Regions from separate parts of the Homo sapiens genome. Here regions 1 and 2 are each linked to region 3. The links are contacts of gene promoters, found by promoter capture Hi-C in blood cells and fetal thymus (Javierre and others, 2016). All regions are on one chromosome and are shown on one strand. Each heading gives the region's core, a stretch centred on a gene start or on the middle of the fragment in contact. The rest is flanking DNA. Distances are from core to core; before and after follow the strand shown.

The links. The method cuts DNA at HindIII sites, captures the fragments that hold promoters and counts their contacts. A CHiCAGO score of 5 or more calls a contact.
Region 1: the fragment with the promoter of PRG3 here is called in contact with the fragment with the promoter of OR5B21 in region 3 in 12 of 17 cell types (non-activated CD4 T cells, total CD4 T cells, total B cells and 9 more); the score reaches 12.5 in non-activated CD4 T cells.
Region 2: a contact is called between a fragment that was not itself captured here and the fragment with the promoter of OR5B21 in region 3, in 1 of 17 cell types (total CD8 T cells). The highest score is 5.2, in total CD8 T cells.

The regions. Positions count from the first base shown.
Region 1 is chr11:57,378,545-57,382,946 of GRCh38, reverse strand. PRG3 (proteoglycan 3, pro eosinophil major basic protein 2) reads left to right here and starts at 1,797. Exons shown (of 6, transcript NM_006093.4): 1 at 1,797-1,833; 2 at 2,166-2,299; 3 at 3,140-3,453; 4 at 4,135-4,266. The coding sequence starts at 2,239. RefSeq lists an enhancer at 2,409-3,608. The HindIII fragment of the contact is 3,099 bases long and covers 715-3,813 here.
Region 2 is chr11:57,414,079-57,418,498 of GRCh38, reverse strand. It overlaps SLC43A3 (solute carrier family 43 member 3), which reads left to right. Exons shown (of 14, transcript NM_199329.3): 8 at 612-751; 9 at 1,829-1,926; 10 at 3,393-3,566; 11 at 3,768-3,884. Among named protein-coding and RNA genes, the nearest start is that of SLC43A3, 11 kb to the left of the region's middle. RefSeq lists an enhancer at 3,422-3,922. The HindIII fragment of the contact is 1,566 bases long and covers 1,202-2,767 here.
Region 3 is chr11:58,506,208-58,510,684 of GRCh38, reverse strand. It overlaps OR5B21 (olfactory receptor family 5 subfamily B member 21), which reads left to right and starts at 2,580. Exons shown (of 1, transcript NM_001005218.3): 1 at 2,580-3,878. The coding sequence starts at 2,580. The coding sequence ends at 3,509. The region is part of intron 2 of LOC105369313 (a long non-coding RNA gene); the gene reads left to right. The HindIII fragment of the contact is 6,996 bases long and covers 1-3,723 here.

The DNA of each region.
Region 1 (4,402 bases), core at 548-3,047, 1.1 Mb after region 3:
GTTCACCCTGACAAGTCCACTAGCTCTTGGCAGAGACATCTGGCAAATTCAAGGCTTGAGACATGCTGGCCTCTCTTTAAAGTGCAGCAAATTTTGTCTAGAGCTTGGTCAGTTAAAATTTTGATGTTTTGTTTTGCATTAATTTCAATTTTTAAGAAATGTTGCATTAAAATGTTATTTATCTTGAATAGTAAATTTCTTAGTGTCCCCTTAATTTCTTAGTGTGTCTGAGTTGAGAGCCTCCCCTGCCTGATTCTAGTCCAGACCCTGGGGTGACAGAAGACTGGTGGGAGATGGGAGGTGAGGAGGGGAGTGTTGGTTGGAGAGGATGATCTACAGAGTGCTGGAGAGACTCTGTATGGAGCTTTTCATGCTGCCTGTTTGCCAGCCCTGAAGCTATGCCTTGAGGTTGGGCAAGGTGGCATATCCTAGATCAGAGATCCTCAACTGGGGCCATTTTTCTCCCCAGAGGACATTTGGAAACATGTGGAGACATTTTTGATCATCTGCGGGGGTGGGGAGAGGGGCTACTGACATCTGGTGAGTAGAGACCAGAGGGACCATTAAACTTTCTACAACGCCCAGGACAGCCCCTCCACAATAAAGAGTTATTTGACCTCACATATTAATAGCACAAAGTTGAGGAACCTTGATCTAGATCCACAGCACAGAAGAAAGGATGTAGATTTTTCACACATTAAAGATGAGAAAGCTTGTGCCTGTAATCCCTGTGACTCAGGAGGCTGTGGCAGGAGGATTACTTGAGCCCAGGAATTCAGGGTTACAGTGAACTATCATCGCAGCACTGCACTCCAGCCTGGGTGACAGAGCAAGATTTTGTCTCTTAAAAAAAAAAAAGATGAGGACAGGCACAGTGGCTCATGCCTGTAATCCCAGCATTTTGGGAGGCCGAAGTGGGTGGATCACGAGGTCAGGAGTTCAAGACCAGCCTGGCCAGCATAGTGAAACCCCATCTCTACTAAAAATACAAAAAATTAGCCAGCTACTTGGGAGGCTGAGGCAGGAGAAGCGCTTGAACCCGGGAGGTGGAGCTTGCAGTGAGCCAAAATCTTGCCATTGCACTCCAGCCTGGGCGACAGAGCAAGACTCCGTCTCAAAAAGAAAAAAAAAAAAGATGAGAAAGAGGAAGGGAGAGAAAAAAGAGAGAGAGGAAAGAAAGAGAGAAGGTTTTGGAGTCAAAAAGACTTAGAAATTCCAGTTCTTCCACTTCCCATGGAACCTTGGCAAGTTGCCTTCTCTCTTTCTCTGAATCTCACATTTTGCCTCTGTGAAGTAGGGGTGGTACCTGGTGGAGATGATGCGGAGATGAGGGTGAGGGGTGTGTTGCACACTATGCCCCTAGGATGGGTGAGAGCTTGGGAGCACTGAACCTCCCTTTCCCCTCTTGTTTCTTCCCCCCATTGTCTCCCACCAGCTCCCTGGGATCTCCACTTCACTCTCTGGGATTCCACCAGCAGGAGGCTACTCCTGGAGTTAAGGCGTGTTGTTCAGACTGGGGCATTTTAGGGGGCATAAATAATAATTATGCCTGGACAATGGACATAACATCTAGGGCCTTCTGAAGCAAACCAGGGTGTGGGGTACCCAAACAAGGCAGTAGGCCCCAGGAGGCAGGTCCCTGCAGTCCCAGCAGAGAGCAGGGCACAGGGTTGAGAAGACTGAGCAAACTTCATTATCAGCTCCTTTGTCCCCCACTCTGTCCTGGAGCAATCATTCTGGCCTCTTCCCACTTCCCCAAAAACCCAGTATAAAGGCTGCTTCTGGCCCCTGAAGCCAGAGGCACTGAGAGTGGAGGTCTCAGACTCTTGGAAGGTGAGTTCTTTTCTGGCTGCCCAGGCAGGACCAGTGTAGGCCCTGGGAAGAAGCAGCACCTCATAGGGCAAACACGTAGGAGGCCTGTCCTTAGGAACATCATAGCTAAGCAGACCTGTCCCCGCAGGGGCAGGAGTCTGGGCTAAGGGTGATACTGGAGAGCAGCAACGGAGACTGGAAGACAAATGAAATTTGGTACCTGAGTTATCCCTCCCACCATTCCTTTTCTAGACTCTCCAGCTCAGGGTCTGTTCATGGCAAGAGGAGAAAGCAATCTTGTTTGCTCTTTAATCAAACAATTAAACAAATATTCCCTCTATACTATGTGCCAGGGGCTATACTAGACACACAAAGACAGCCCCAAGAAGGACGGTGGAGTAGTGTCCTCGCTAAAAGACAGTAGATATGCAATGCCTCTTGCTCCTGCCCTTTCTCCTGCTGGGAACAGTTTCTGCTCTTCATCTGGGTAAGTCTCTCCCTTCCCTCCTCATGCGTCTTTCCCTTTTTTCCTTTTTCCTACACTCCCCTCCCCCCGCTTTTATTTGCACTCATGAGGCCAGGACCACAGCCTTCCCTCTTTAGCTGATACAGCTCATCTCCGGTAAGATATCACTTGGACTCAGAACTGTAACCTGGAACTTTCTCTTTTTTGTTTGATTTTTTTTTGTTGTTGTTGTTTTTGTTTTTTTTTTTGTTTGTTTTTTGTTTTGTTTTGAGACGGAGTCTCGCTCTGTTGCCCAGGCTGGAGTGCAGTGGCGCGATCTCGGCTCACCACAAACTCCGCCTCCCGGGTTCAAGCAATTCTTCTGCCTCAGCCTCCTGAGTAGCTGGGACTACAGGCACATGCCACCACGCCTGGCTAATCTTTGTATTTTTAGTAGAGATGGGGTTTCACCATATTTGCCAGGCTGGTCTCAAACTCCTAACCTTGTGATTCGCCCGCCCCGGCCTCCCAAAGTGCTGGGATTACAGGCGTGAGCCACCGCACCCGGCAAACTGTAACCTGAACTTTCAGAAGGAAAAACCACCCACCTGTTAAGATGAAGGGCTGGTGACTGCCCCAGGCTTCTCACACGTGCTTTCTCCCACCTTCAAAACACACACTCGTGGTGTCGGCCAGAAGTCAGGTTCTTGTCCATTTGTGGGTGTGACCCGAGAGATCTCTCCTTACCTAACACCAAGGAAATCCTCCAGTCTTGTCTTCAGGTGGAATTCCTAGGAAAGCTCGAGCGACGTTGCTGGAGCTGTCCACGGTGCTGGAACTAGGAAGCTCTTGACCTGATGGCAGGTTACCTCTTCTTCCCAGAGAATGATGCCCCCCATCTGGAGAGCCTAGAGACACAGGCAGACCTAGGCCAGGATCTGGATAGTTCAAAGGAGCAGGAGAGAGACTTGGCTCTGACGGAGGAGGTGATTCAGGCAGAGGGAGAGGAGGTCAAGGCTTCTGCCTGTCAAGACAACTTTGAGGATGAGGAAGCCATGGAGTCGGACCCAGCTGCCTTAGACAAGGACTTCCAGTGCCCCAGGGAAGAAGACATTGTTGAAGTGCAGGGAAGTCCAAGGTGCAAGATCTGCCGCTACCTATTGGTGCGGACTCCTAAAACTTTTGCAGAAGCTCAGGTAAGTAGTAGGGAGGCTACTGCGGAGGACCTGGGGGAAAAGAGAGTACATTCAGTCTTCTGTTCCCTATTCATTTAGGCTAGTGGTTCTCAAAGCCTCGCATGCATCAGAATCACCTGGAGTTGTTGTTAAAACACAGCTTTCTGGGCCTCACCTGCACGACTTCTGATTTAGGAGGGCTGAGGTGAAGCCTGAGAATTTGCATTTACAACAAATCCCCAGGTGATGATGATATTGTTGGTCTGGGGAGAACCACCGATTTAAACAAAAGGCTTTGGTGTTAGAAACGCCTGTGTTAAATTCTGGTTCTGCCTTTTATTAGCTGTGTTACCTGGGCAAGTTGCTTTGCCTTTCAAAGCTTTAGCACCTTCATTTGTAAAACGAAGATATATAGCACCAACTTCTTAGAGTTGTGGTGAGCATTAAATGAGATAATACATGAAAAGTGTTTGGAATAGTCACTGGGCTGTAATAAACTCTCAATAAGCGGTGGTTATAATTATTATGAGTATTATCATTTCCTGTAGGATTGTCCTGACAGCTAATTAAGAAGCAAAAGATAGGATTAAGGGAGGCAAGTAGGTTTATTTTTAACCTGAAAAGGGATGCCGGGCTCTTGCCTGGAGACTCAGAAACTTGAAATAAATGAGAGGGAATTCTCTACTTTGTTTCCGTCTGCAGAATGTCTGCAGCAGATGCTACGGAGGCAACCTTGTCTCTATCCATGACTTCAACTTCAACTATCGCATTCAGTGCTGCACTAGCACAGTCAACCAAGCCCAGGTCTGGATTGGAGGCAACCTCAGGGGCTGGGTAAGTCAGGGGCCAAATCTTGGGTGCAGTAAGTTCTTTCTGAATGTGTTAAAGTAGCATCTGATGGTGCCAAGCCTCAGGCCAGCAGCTAAGGTTTCCTTAATGTGGCAGGCAATGATGTGCTGGAGATGGCTTG
Region 2 (4,420 bases), core at 735-3,234, 1.1 Mb after region 3:
TGGTCTCAAGCTCCTGGACTCAAGCAATCCTCCTGTCTTGGTCTTCTAAAGCACTAGAATTACAGGCAGGAACCACTGAGCTTGGCCCTGCATAGTGCTCTTAAAGTTCATCCATGTTGCAGCATGTGTCAGAATTTCTTTCCTTTCCTTTTTTTTTTTTATTTGGAGGCAAGGTCATGTTTCATTGTCCAGGCTGGGGTGCAGTGGCCCAGTCATGACTCACTGCAGCCTCAAACTTCTGGGCTCAAGAAATCCTCCCACTCAGCCTCCTGAGTAGCTGGCACTACAGGTGTATGCCACCACACCCAGCTAATTAAATAAAAATTTTCTAGAGAAGGGGTGAGGGTCTCACTATGTTGTCAAGGCTGGTCTTGAACTGGGCTCAGGTGATCCTCGTGCGTCCCAAAGTGCTGGGATTGTAGGTGTGAGCCAGCATGGTTGCCTCTTTCCTTTTTTAAGGCTGAATAATATTCCATTGTGTGTATAGATCACATTATGTTTAGCTGTTCATCTGCTGATGGACCCTTAGTTTGCTTCCATCCTTTGGCTATTGTGAATAGTGCTGCTATGAACGTGGGTGTGACACTGACTTTTTCCTTCTCCTTCTGCAGCTTCTTTATGAAAAAGGCATCAGCCTCAGGGCCTCCTTCATCTTCATCTCTGTCTGCAGTACCTGGCATGTAGCACGCACTTTCCTCCTGATGCCCCGGGGGCACATCCCATACCCACTGCCCCCCAACTACAGCTATGGGTAAGGACTATCTGGTGATTGTGGGCCAGAGCCCCTCATTGGCCCTAGGGTGGGATGGACAGGGTAAAGCAAACCTATCACAGGAGAGGAGGAGGACTGGAGCAGTGCATCTGTTAGCTATTGCTGCATAACAAACTATCTCAAAACTCAGCAGCCTAAAATGTTAAGCATTTATTATTTTTCACAAGTCTGTGGGTAGCTGGCTAGTTCCGCTGATCAGGGCCAGATGTAGATGATTTTGACAGGGCTCATTCATACATCTGATCATTTGGAGGATTACATGGGGGCTGGCTATGCTAGGATGGCCTCACTCACATAGGTTTGGAGTGACAGGGATGCCTGGGTCACGTGGCTGTCATCCTCCAGCAAGCCAGCGTGGGCTCATTCACACCGTGATTTCAGGGTTCTGAAAGAGTGCAGAAATGCACAAGCGTTCTTGAGATTTAAGCTTGGAATTGGCACAGCCACTTCTGCTGCATTCTTTTGGCTGAAGCAGTTCACAAGGCTGGCCCAGATTCAGGGCATGGGGAAATAGAGCTGCAGTCTCATTCAAATTGGGGGAAATACAGAGGAGGTGAAGAAATGTGATCATTTTTGCAGTCATTTGCCACAAGGAGTAGAGGAAGGGCATTCCTTTGCTGCTCACTTACTAATTGTCAGACCCCATGTGCTCTCTGATTTCATCCTCACAATAATCCTCTGAGATATCCTTATCTCCATTTTCTAAATGCAAAAAATGAGGCTCAGAAGGGTTAAGTCTGAGCCATCTTTCTGTTGCTAGGAAGAGGCAGAGCTGGGATTTGAACCTGGGCCTGCCCTACTCTTTTCATGCTTCCTAAACTTTGCTGCTTATTAGAATCACTAGATTCACATAGAGATCTTAGAAAAGGAAGCCTGGCTCTCACCTCCAGACATTCTGATTTAACTGGTCTGGTCTGCAACCTGGGCATCAGAGTGGCTAAAAGGTGATTCCAAAGTGCGGTGGAATGTGGGATTCACCATGCTATTCCCTCCAGTCTGAGTCTCAGGTTCGGCTCACAGTCCTTGGCCTTGCTGGTGGGGCTTTTGTTTCCATAGCCTGTGCCCTGGGAATGGCACCACAAAGGAAGAGAAGGAAACAGCTGAGCATGAAAACAGGGAGCTACAGTCAAAGGAGTTCCTTTCAGCGAAGGAAGGTGAGCCCTGCTGGCTAACCCATCTCTCCTCCAGACCCAAGCCTCTCCTTGTGCCTTTCCTGGCCCCTCACCTCCAGAGCTCCCCCAGGGACCCAGAATCAGGAAAGGCAGGACAGAAAAAGGGCCTTAGGCATCTTCCCAACCCTCTCACTTAATGGAGGGTCCAGGGCTTTCGTCTCTTTTCTGTCCCTCTTTTCTCTATTTCGCATCCTATCACTTCCCCACCCCTTGAAGCCCGCCTGCCATGGGTTGCCTTCCCTTCCCCCCACTCCTCGGTTCTGCCCTCTTCTGTGATGCCATTGCACTAAGTCTGGTACAGTGCCCCCATTTCTCCAGGTCTCCTGGGTCCGCCCTCTCTTATTGTCCCAACTCTATCACTGCTTCCTTTCCTTCCTCTCTGTTCTGCGTCTTTGGTTACACACATCACAAACCGCAGCTAGCTACAGTAGAAATAAGAACGGGGTGGGAGAGGAGATGGGAGATGCAGGTCGAAGGACAAAAAGGAGCAGATGAGCAGGATGAACAGGCCTAGAGATCTAATGCACAGCACGAAGACTGTAGGTCATCAAACTGCATTGTGTTTGGGACTTTCCTAAACAAGTAGATTTTAACTGCTCTTGTCACAAAACAGGTAGAAATGTGAGATGATGGATATGTTAATTTGCTTAACTGTAGTAACCATCTTAGTAGCTATATGTATCCTATGACCTCATATTGTATATCTTAAATATACAGAATAAAATTGATTTTTTTGTTTTTATTTTTACCATCTGACAATTGGATCCAAAACATGTATTTATTTATTTATTTTAAAGAAAGAAGAATAGGGTTCTGGGAAGCTTCCAAAATCAAGGGAGGACATTGAACTTGCCAGGGTGTAGGACCTATTTTAGATTAAGTCCATCCTAATCTAAACTCATGGCCGGTCTGCCTTGTTAGGAGGAACCATCTCATTGGTTAACCTTGAGAGAGGAACAGAACACTGAATTCATGGTCCCATCTGGACCATGAAGATTAGGGTAGAGGAAGATTTCCCAAAGAAACTCAGGATACTGGTATCAAAAGAAAGGGAGGTGCTGAGGAGCAGGTTAGAACAGAGTATCCACACTCATTCTCCTCTCCCTTCTGACTTTCTCCTCTCCTTGTCGTTCCTTTCACCTTTCTCGCTGAGAAAGATCAGGAAGGTATTACTGCAAGAAGTGTCATTGACCAGGCTGTGAGAGACAGATCGGATTTCAATAGAGAAGAACACAGAGGGTCATCCAAGGTGGTAGGGCCAGCATGACAAAGCAGGGAGGTGGGGATGTGTGAGTCCGAGGCAGGTGCAGAGCACGCCGGGTGAGTTCTGGGAGCCAAGGGTAGAAGGTGGGCCCGGATCTGAAATGTTCCATTGAAGCCTCCACACTCCCCATCCTACCTGTCCACTTTCCTCGTAATTCACGCCCAGATCCTCCTCTCCCCATTAGAGACCCCAGGGGCAGGGCAGAAGCAGGAACTCCGCTCCTTCTGGAGCTACGCTTTCTCTCGGCGCTTTGCCTGGCACCTGGTGTGGCTGTCTGTGATACAGTTGTGGCACTACCTCTTCATTGGCACTCTCAACTCCTTGCTGACCAACATGGCCGGTGGGGACATGGCACGAGGTATGTGGTAGGGCTGGGAGGTAGCCCATCTGCATGTCCCAGCTGGGAACACAGAGCCTCCCAGCAGGGCTGTACACACCAGAGGAGGGTCTGATGGTGTGGGGAGGAGGGACATGCAGACAAGGGTAAGGTGGGAGAGTCCCTGCCTGGAAGGGAGTTTTGGAAACTTCTCATCAACCAACCTCTCTCTTCCTTCTGCAGTCAGCACCTACACAAATGCCTTTGCCTTCACTCAGTTCGGAGTGCTGTGTGCCCCCTGGAATGGCCTGCTCATGGACCGGCTTAAACAGAAGTACCAGAAGGAAGCAAGAAAGACAGGTGAGATGCGGGGGAGGGCAGGGGCTGGTCAGGGAACCAGGAAGGGAGGTCTTCATTTACCCCATGACATCTTCTCTCGCTCTTTTTTTTTTTTTTTTTTTTTTTTTTGTGATAGAGTCTTACTCTGTTGCCCAGGCTGGAGTGCAGTGGTGTGATCTCAGATCATTGCAGCCTGCACCTCCTGGGTTCAAGAGATTCTCCTGCCTCAGCCTCCCAAGTAGCTGGGATTACAGGCGTGTGCCACCATCCCCCACTAATTTTTGTCTTTTTAGTAGAGACGGGGTTTCACCATGTCAGGCTGGTCTTGAACTCCTGACCTCGGGTGATCTGCCCGCCTCAGCCTCCCAAAATGCTGGGATAACAGGCGTGAAGCACCATGCCTGGTCTTCTCTTTTGTTCTTAACCCTGTCTAGTTGCACTCATTCATTCATTAAAACACTAGTCACTGAGTGATAGTTATGTGTCAGCCATGGTGCCAGACACCAGGGATTCAATGACAGACAAGATAGATGTGTTCTTTTTCTCAAGGTGTTCTC
Region 3 (4,477 bases), core at 1,331-3,830:
AAGTACCTTGAATATTAATTGCCGGTAGAGGAACATGGCAGTCAGGGACAGTTCAATATGGCGGGGGCGGGGGGGTGGGTGTAATGGCTTTTAAAAACTGAACGTACAGCTTAAGTGAATAGACTCCTGTGGTCAATATTAACCAAGGAGATTGATCTAATAAGCATTTCAGAAGGTATTTTGGAAAATAATTCAGAATCCACCCTAAGTCAGCTGCATTTTATTCTTGGAATTTTTCCAGGTTTTCATCCTACCTTGTGTCTAGGAAAAGGTTGGTTTACAATATGGGAGGACTGGTATCTCTTTGGTCAAAGGACCACGTACTTAGCAAGCAGTTATCCCTTCCTGGGATCCCTCTACCAATAAGCAGCAATATTTGGCCAGAGTTCTAGACTTTAAACCAGTCACTTCACCTCACTGAGCCTCGGTTTCTTCATGTCTATATCTGCTATCTCTCTCTCTCTCTATCTAGTCATGCAATAATTAAATTAAGAAGTGAATGCAAAAAGAGTTTTATAAACTTTAGAACCACTGTTTTTTAAAAGCTCTAGAACAGTGGTTCTCAATCAGGGGAATGTTACCCTTCAGGGGACATTTGGCCACGTCTGGAGACATTTTTGACTGTTACAAATGGGAGGTGGTGGTGTTACTGGAATCTAGTGATTAGAGAGAGGCCAGGGAAACTGCTGAATATCTTACAATGCACAGGACAGCACTCCCTCTCCCCCACCACACCCTGCACCAAAGAACTGTCCAGCTCATAATGTCAGTAGTGCTGAGGCTGAAAAACCAGGCTCTGGAATTGTACAGATTTTACAGTTAAGCAGTTATGTGACCTTGAGGGGCACCACATCCTTCTGTTTCCAAATATGTAAGATCAGAACACTGCCTGTCATAGATTACAGGATATTGTGTTTGCTAAATTTGAGAGTATACACACATGTCAAAAGTCAAAAGAAAAACAAGTTAAAAAAGGCTGGATAAATATAATAGAAAGTGATGCTGGTCAGAAAGTCAATTAGTACATTACTGGATAGTAATGTACCAAGCTGACTGAGCCAGTTCTTATGAAACTAGCCACATCGTGTGTGTGTGATGGTCATCCAAAAAGGACAAGCTACACTATCCCCTTCTTTTTGTGTCACCAATCAAATTGCTGCTGTTACTCTTCAAGGTAAGCTAAAGTCCAGCAGAGCTGAAGCATTTTTCTCCTTTAATTCCTGTTTTCTCCTTTTTCCTCCTCTCTTCTCACATTTTCTCCCTCACTTCTTCTGAGTCTGCTCCCACTCACTCTGCTACTAGGAGTGGGGAAAGCCTGTGAACACCTCAGGTTGAGGAACAAAAATAGGAGAGAAAGAATGCTCTAAAATGAGGACAGAAACCTGTCTCCAGGCCTGACCATCTGCAAACTCACTGTTACTCCTGAATATTTTTCATATGACAAGTCTAAGCTAATATTTTGGCCCAAAGCACAAACCTGGTAGACAAGAGGATGATAGGATGTTTGTTGTGGGATTAAAGAGCATGAAAAATATTTCCATACTTTCCTATTGATGTTCTGTTTGATTCACCAAATATTTACATACATGTGTGAGGGGCCATGGTAAGGAGAGTGGACCAGAGGGGATGAAGATAGTTACTGTCCCAAGGGGCTTAGAGCTAGGTGAAGAGTGAGTGGTTGCCCAGCTAATTGTGCAATAATCAGCCAAGACTCAAGTGCTTTGAGGAGGGAGAGAAAGGAGGACTTAACTGGAATTAGGGTCTACAGCAAAGACTTCTGATAAGGGGTGAAAAAAGACATATGCATATACACAGATACACAAAGCCATTTGTATATATCAAATTTATAGTTTTATATTAAATATATATAAATACATACTCATATTTACATATACCATACTCCCTTTCAGTTGAACTACTGTTGAGGGATTAATTTATAAAGGCTTCAAAAGTTGTGGTTAAGATCTTTGGATTTAGTATCAAACAGACCTTGAGGGCACCACCTTGTCCTGCCAACACCTTGATTTTGGCCCAGTGAAACTGATTTGAGGCTTCTGGCCTCCAGAATTTTGAGAGAATAAACTTGTGTTGTTTTAAGGAAAAATAAATTTAGAAAATCTTTAGTGAGGCTATATTATTGGAAGTAGAATGTGGAAGACAATAAGTGATGGATGTTTTTATTTTTAATAATTAAATACATACAATCTTATATCCACATCATAATTTGTATTTATATGATGTAAATGTGTTAAAGAATTCAAGATGAATGTATGAACTTTAGATTCAGAAATATAAAGGGGTGAACTTTGATTCTGACCCCTAGATAGGCTATCTTGCTCAATATTCAGCTCCCTGAGCCTTAACTTCCTTATCTGTAAGATGGGCATAATAGCACCTATCTCATATGAATTAAAAGCTATAATATAACAGAGGGTTCTAGGATGAGTGTTACACACAGTACATTCTCTCTATACATTAGTTTTCTCCTTTTTTATCATTCCATCCTCCCTTCTCATACTTTCATTGGAATTTTGTTGACGCCTCTTCTTTAATCACCAGGCTAATTCAAGCTGGCCACAATGGAGAATAGCACAGAAGTGACAGAGTTTATCCTCTTGGGATTAACAGATGACCCCAATCTTCAGATACCCCTCCTCCTGGCATTTTTATTCATCTACCTCATCACCCTGCTTGGGAATGGGGGAATGATGGTGATCATCCACTCAGACTCCCATCTCCACACTCCAATGTACTTTTTCCTCAGTAACCTCTCCCTTGTAGACTTGGGTTACTCATCAGCTGTAGCCCCCAAAACGGTGGCTGCATTGCGGTCAGGGGACAAGGCCATCTCCTACGATGGATGTGCAGCTCAGTTCTTCTTCTTTGTGGGGTTTGCCACTGTTGAGTGCTACCTCCTGGCCTCCATGGCCTATGATCGCCATGCAGCGGTATGTAGGCCTCTTCATTACACCACCACCATGACAGCAGGTGTGTGTGCCCTCCTTGCTACTGGTTCCTATGTCTCTGGCTTCCTCAATGCCTCTATCCATGCAGCAGGCACCTTCAGACTCTCCTTCTGTGGTTCTAATGAGATTAATCATTTCTTCTGTGACATTCCCCCACTCCTGGCTCTCTCATGCTCTGACACACGCATCAGCAAGTTGGTGGTCTTTGTGGCAGGCTTCAACGTCTTTTTCACCCTCCTGGTCATCCTTATTTCTTACTTCTTCATATGCATCACCATTCAGAGGATGCATTCTGCTGAAGGGCAGAAGAAAGTCTTCTCCACCTGTGCTTCCCATCTCACTGCTTTGTCCATCTTCTATGGCACAATCATCTTCATGTACTTACAGCCCAACTCCAGCCAGTCCGTGGACACAGACAAAATAGCCTCTGTGTTTTACACAGTGGTGATTCCCATGCTGAATCCCTTGATATACAGCCTTAGGAACAAAGAAGTGAAAAGTGCTCTCTGGAAAATACTCAACAAACTTTACCCCCAATATTAAATGTGAATGGGAAGTAGGCAAGCAATTAAGGGATAAACTTTCTCTCACACCTAAATGCCATCATGACTTTTAACGTTTGACTGGTTTCAGTTCTTTCTTCCCCAAGAACAGCGGTTACTTCTGCTATTAGAAGATGTAAAAAGCAGCACGTTGAAAGTCTTACTTAGAAAGATAATCTTATATTTAGTGAACAACAACATGGGACAGTTAAGCTTTTCTTGCTTTAGTTTCTTGACGTGGTTTAAAGCAGAAGATTGAAGCATACAAATGAATGTACCAAATTTTCCTCATCCTGTTTTTAATTGTAAGAATTTTTCATTCACTATTAAACTTGGTGTAAAGATTTCACCTTCATTTTTATCAACTGAACACACAGTATCTTTTTTATTCTTTTGTTCTGCGAGTTTGAAAGTTGGACTTTCTGAGGTAGACAAAGGATGTTTCAATATTTTAAATGATATTTGAGAGAAAGTTGTAATTTAAAGGACAAGGCACTAGATCGAGTCAGGTAGCTGACGATTAAATCTTTCCAACCCCTTACTCTCCCTTCTCTACCCACATTCCTATCCTACTCACTAGTCATGTGCCTTTGTAATTTCCATTCCCTTTTGCTAAATCATTGGGGAAACATTACACCTTGTTATATACAGAAATATGGGAATGCTTTAATAGATGAATTACTTCAACTTTAACCTGACTAAATACAACTTCCTTCGGAGAGCCTACACTATCTTTTATGTTTCTTGTCTCTGTCTAACATAATTACCAAAACTTCCAGAAGGTTTAGAGAAAAAAAGCAGTTTTCCCTAGAGCTATGAAAAAATATATTTGTTTTCTGAATTAAATGCTTGCATTTCTTAGCACCCTTAAGTTTGGTGAATCTATTATGAAGATATATAATAGCTTTCTGGACTGTCTTTGCTTTTACTTTTTCAATAATTCAGCTCACCTCTGGGTCTCCATTGCAT